Regions from separate parts of the Homo sapiens genome. Here region 1 is linked to region 2. Evidence: promoter capture Hi-C in 16 types of primary human blood cells and fetal thymus (Javierre and others, 2016). All regions are on one chromosome and are shown on one strand. Each heading gives the region's core, a stretch centred on a gene start or on the middle of the fragment in contact. The rest is flanking DNA. Distances are from core to core; before and after follow the strand shown.

Evidence for each region. The method cuts DNA at HindIII sites, captures the fragments that hold promoters and counts their contacts. A CHiCAGO score of 5 or more calls a contact.
Region 1: a contact is called between a fragment that was not itself captured here and the fragment with the promoter of AP1M1 in region 2, in 1 of 17 cell types (fetal thymus). The highest score is 5.1, in fetal thymus.

Annotation. Positions count from the first base shown.
Region 1 is chr19:15,622,635-15,625,334 of GRCh38, reverse strand. It overlaps CYP4F8 (cytochrome P450 family 4 subfamily F member 8), which reads right to left. Exons shown (of 13, transcript NM_007253.4): 7 at 1,960-2,230; 8 at 1,570-1,636; 9 at 1,241-1,370. Among named protein-coding and RNA genes, the nearest start is that of CYP4F8, 8.8 kb to the right of the region's middle. The HindIII fragment of the contact is 786 bases long and covers 1,013-1,798 here.
Region 2 is chr19:16,196,369-16,199,196 of GRCh38, reverse strand. It overlaps AP1M1 (adaptor related protein complex 1 subunit mu 1), which reads right to left and starts at 1,286. Exons shown (of 12, transcript NM_032493.4): 1 at 1,129-1,286. The coding sequence starts at 1,170. RefSeq lists a silencer at 903-1,142. The HindIII fragment of the contact is 4,202 bases long and covers 1-2,687 here.

The sequences.
Region 1 (2,700 bases), core at 156-2,655, 570 kb after region 2:
TATACACACACATAGTTTCTTGTGAATTTGTTGTTATTTAGAATCATGACACAAGGACAAAATATTCATTAAACTTGGTTGGGACAATTAGACATTTGGAGAAAAAATAGATTCCAACATAGATTTCAAAGGGAAAAATTTCTAAATGTGAAAAATATTGATAAAATGTTAAACTTTTAAAAATATATAAGCCTATTAAAATAAGTCAAACAAGAGTTTTGCATTTTACTATTAGAGTATAAAATGGTTTTTAAATATTTTTTTAAGAAACACAAACAGGAATTATAAAAGAAAAAATTAATAAATTTGGTGACAAATAAATGAACCAAAAATAAAAATAAAGTCCAAGACAATGCGAGGCAACATTTTGCATAACAGAAAAAAGAAATAATTTTCTTAATATGTAAAGAGTTTTTATAAGTAAATAAGAAAACTAGTACGACCCAAAGTAGAAAAAACAAATTACGCAAAAACTGACTTCACAGAAAAATAGATATGGATGGCTCATCGGCAGGTGAAAACAGTGCTCAACTTTACCCACATTTAAAGTTATGTTCATTAAAATAACAAAATATTATATTGCATCTATCAGATTGGCAAATGTTTTAGTTTCATAATAGGCACTTCTGGGGAGGTTATGAGGAAATTTGGTATTCTCAAAATCTGTGTATAGCAGTAGATTTCCCAAGAGCTATTGAATTGTAAAACTCAAATGGTCTTTGGCTCAGCAGTTGCACTTCTAGGAATCTGCTCTACAAAGATGACATGTCAGCAATGATCATCGTACACCGATATTCAACACATCATGTCTTTTATACCAAAAGGCTGGAAAGTATAAAAACACGCGTTGATAAGAGAATGTTTTGATAAATCATAATATTAGATTGGTCCAAAAGTCATTGCGGTATTTGCCGTTAATTCTCCAAGCAGCCCTGTGGGACAGCAATTCCCCACACCCCCAATTTACAAAGGAGAAAAGTTGTTCAGAAAAGGGAATTGATTTTACTAAGCTTGCATAGCAAGTTAGTGGGGAAATAAATATGGACTCCCAGACCATTCTGTCCCCAAAGCATGCAATGTTACCCTTGCTAGCCTGTTTCTGGGCTCTACTCCTATTCCCACTAGGCAACAATGGCAGAATCATCAAAAAGATCCTCCCCTTTTCCCCCACCTGGGGAGAAGAACCAACGAGAAGGACTCAGAAAGGCAGAAAGGCAGAGCCACCAGCACCTGCACTCACCATTCAATCTCTTTAGGCTCACGGTCCTTCAGAAGCTCTTGCACCTCCTGCCGGCAGCGTTCTTGGTATTCTGGGTGCCTCGCGAGGTTGTACAAGACCCAGGAGAGGCCACTGGCCGTGGTGTCATGGCCTGAGGGTCAGCCAGGCAGGCTTGAGTCTCTGGGCTGCTTCAGCACCCAGAGGGTGGACAGCGCCCATACATTGAGGCTCTCAGGAAGGTTGAGGGGAGGGGGAGGTTGGGCAGAATGAAGTGATTCAGGGCCGGCCCTCCACTTCCCTGGAGTGGAGAGACCCCTGTCCCCACTGTAGCCCCAGACTGGGACACTCACCTCCAAACATGAAAGTGTCAGCTTCTGCTCTTATGTCCTCATCTGACAACTCTTTACCATTTTTATCCTGGAGACAAGAACCCCAATCACACTAGTTCTGGGGTCACTGGAGTCTAAACTGAAACAGTCTCTGAAGACCCATTATCCCAGAAGGATCCCTCCCTTGTCACCTCCAGATCTACCCCCACATGCTTCCTTCCGACCTCCTGTTTGTTCTTCCCAGGAAGCTTTCTATGCAATCACCTCTAAAATTTATCTGACTTGTCCCTCCCTTCTTCGAGCACCTTCCATGGCTCCTTAGTGCCCTCTGTATCAAGTCCGGTCCTTCAATCTGACATTTGACCTGAAGCTCCATTTTACCTCTTGAATTCAGATCCCAGAGAGGCCCACCTCGCTCAGCAGGAGCACATCAATAAAGTCCAAAGTCTTGGACTTGGCCTTGGCTTGGAGGAAGTCATCAACACCCTGGCTAGTGAGGGTGCGGCGCCGCTCCTGGATGACGGCATCTGTGAAGTCGTGCACCAGTCTGCAGGCCCTGTGGAAGCGCCGTCCACAGGGAGTGAGGAAGTACAGGAAGTCCTTGTACCGGAAGAACTGGTTATTCCGTTTCACTACAAGGGCACTGAGCTCCATGATCGCAGTAATATATTCACTGGGCTTCCTGCAGGGCCAGTCCAGAGAGAGGAAGCAGCTCCTTACCCACATGAAAGCCTGGGAGCACCTTCCAGCCAGAATCCCAGGACCACATTCCATGCAGAAAGGGGTGTCCTGCAAGCGCACTTCACTCTCTGCCTCCCACTCTCTGTGAGCTGCCTCCTGCCCCAGGTCCCCAGGGCACAGCTTGGCCATCATGGGCATCTCCTCTCTCTGTCTTATAAAACATCTGCTCCTGCCTATTATTACTCAGTTTCTCCCAAATCTGCCCCATTTTCTCCACCAAACTCAGACCTCCTCTCCCTGGCATCCTTGCATGCTGTGTCTACATGACAGTCAATCTTCCATAGAGTCCCATAGAGTCCAGTGTCCAAGCTCAGTACTGACCATGTCTCTCATCTGCTCAAACACCTCCATGGCTCCTTAGGAACCTTGGATAAAATGCATCTCCCTTTGTCTGACTTTTCAAGATCCTTA
Region 2 (2,828 bases), core at 37-2,536:
CCACTGCAATTGACATTTATTTGTGTTTTTGGAGATGGGTATCCATCTCCCCTACCAGCCTGTGAACACCGTAAGAACACAGATTGTTGAGCCCTGGCACATGACTCACACCTGTAATCCCAGCACTTTGGGAGGCTAAGACAGGTGGATCACTCGAGGTCAAGAGTTCGAGACCAGCCTGGTCAACATGGTGAAACCCTGCCTCTACTAAAAATACAAAATTTAGCTCGGCGTAGTGGCAGGTGCCTGTAATCCCAGCTACTTGGGAGGCTGAGGCAGGAAAATTGCTTGAACCCGGGAGGCGGAGGTTGCAGTGAGTGGAGATTGCACCACTACACTCCAGACTGGACGACTGAGCATGACACTATCTCAAAAACAAAACAAAAAAAAAGGGACTGTTTTTTGCTAAACACAAATCGACCCCAGGCTTAGTACCCTGCCCGGCATTAGTAGGTGCTCCCCAGATATCAGCTGAATAAACGAATGATTCTGGATCGGACTCCTAGACTTGCTACTTCTCTGTGACCATTGTGACCTTGGTCAGGTTGCTTCACCTCTCCATGCCTCAGTTTCTCCCTCTATAAAACGGCACTCGTGATCACCACTCACCTCACCTAATCCTTGTAACTCACTATCACAATGAACGTGGAGAAATTCCTACTGAGAGAAAGTGCACGATAAACAGAAGCTGTAACGCCCTGAGAAGGCGGGACTGGCTCGAGAGCACCCAGTCCCCGCCACGCCTCGCCACCCCCGGCCAAGGGTCGCGCAGCCCCTGGACGCCCTGCCTGGCTCCGAGGCCGGCTGCGGCCCCGCTTCTGGGTCCTCCACCGAGGCCCGAGCCCCCGGCCCCGGCGCCGGGGAGCAGAGGGCGGTGCAGTCAGTTACCTGGCAACGCGGTGGCTGCAGCCCACCGCGTTACGTAGCAACAGGGCGGGGATTACCCACTTAAGACCCCCGCCCGGTTACCCAGAAACAGGATGGGGCTCTCAGGTGAGGTCTACCGGCCTCTCTGCCTCACACCAGGATGGGGCTCATAAGCCGGTTACCTAGCAACAGGGTGGGTCCCCGCGGGCGGAGGCCCCTGCCGGTTGCCTGGCAACAGGGAGGGTGGGGAGCCCTCAGTACCTTGCCCTTCAGGTCCAGCACGTAGACGGCGCTGGCGGACATGATGGCTGCAGGAGGCCTCGGCAGCGGCCGAGGGCGGTGGCGGCGGCAGCGACGGTGGGGACTGCTGGGCGTTGAGCAAGGCCGGGCGCCGCCCGCGACAGCTCACCTCCACTTCCGGTTCGGGGAGCCGCGCGGGGACCGTTATGTCCGGTCCGGGAGGTGCTGTCAGGAATGCGCAGGCGCAGGACGGACTGTGCGCAGGCGCATTACGTCGTATGTAACCATGTTTCTTGCTCCCGCCAGAAGCATCCCGGAAGTAAGGCCCGGTGGGGCGGGGCCGACCAAATCAGGGCACCCAGTGGCCGCTGCCAGGCTGAGCTATGGAGCCAGAGCAGCTGGAAACGGCCTCCCGTGGGCCGAGTTAGGCGAGAGAGCCTGGTGGTGAAACCGACCTGGGGCCCAGCCCTATGGAGCTCACAGTCTGGTGGGGAAGTCTATGAAACAAGTGTACAGTCACCAATTGTGATAAGCTCAAAAGAGAGAGGTAAGGTCGTGGTTACTTGGAAAGAGGTCAAACAAACTTTCTGAATGGCAATCAAACCTTATCAACAGTCACCACCTGTCATTGTCAACATTTATCAATGAATGAGTGTGCCTGTTTATTGCCTGGAATGTTATGAAAACCAGCCTCACTGAACCTTGACCCAACATACCGTGTTTCATTTCTGCAAAGTTAGTAATCAGTAATGCAACTGGTGGCCCTTGATTAATCCATTGAGTCATATTTAATTTGCTTTTATGAACTCTTGGGCTTTGGAGAAATGCCTGCATTCTGTTCCAGTTAGCCATCATAGTACCCTGGGGATCCCAACCCTGCAATACCAGAGTGATTTACCCAGGATGCCTGCCTCTCACATCTTTTATTTTCTGTCTTATCTCCGTTTTGGCGTTTGGAAAGATGATTTTTGCAACTCGGTAATTATATAGTGTTTTGCTTAGGAAAGAAATGTGACCGAAACTCTAGAGAAGCAAACTAGAATGTTTGAAGACTGCTAAGTGACTCCTGGGCTGGAAGGATTCTTGCTCAAGGCACAGAGCAAGCAGCCAAGAGAGGGTTTTTGTTGTTTGCTTTTTTTTTTTTTTTTTTTTTTGAGATGGAGTCTCACTCTGTCACCCAGGCTGGAGTGCAATGGCATGATCTCGGCTCACTGCAACCTCTGCCTCCTGGGTTCAAGTGATTCTCTTGTGTGTCAGCCTCTCAAGTGGCTGGGATTACAGGCATGTGCCACCACACCTAGCTAATTTTTGTATTTTTAGTAGAGACGTGGTTTCACCATGTTGGCCAGGCTTGTCTCAAACTCCTGACCTCACGTGATCCACCCACCTCGGCCTCCCAAAGTGCTGGGATTACAAGGGTTAAGTTAAATATTAAAAGATAAGAGAGCCAGTGCCCTTATACAAAGGCTGGGATGTAACAAAAGCCCACCCAGAGTTGTGCCTAGGCCTTTCCTGGGCCTTGAAGCATGACAAGATAATGAAGGAATTCTTAACAGGACCCTTTTAGGATTAAACAAGCTTTATTGGCGGTCTGAAGAAACTCCTCAGGCCTCCACAAACAAGTTTATTGGGGTTTGAAGGAACTCCCCCAAACCTCCATGATTTAGCAGGAGATAAGATAAGGGTAATCACCCCAGCACCTGGACCCACTTAGATTAAGT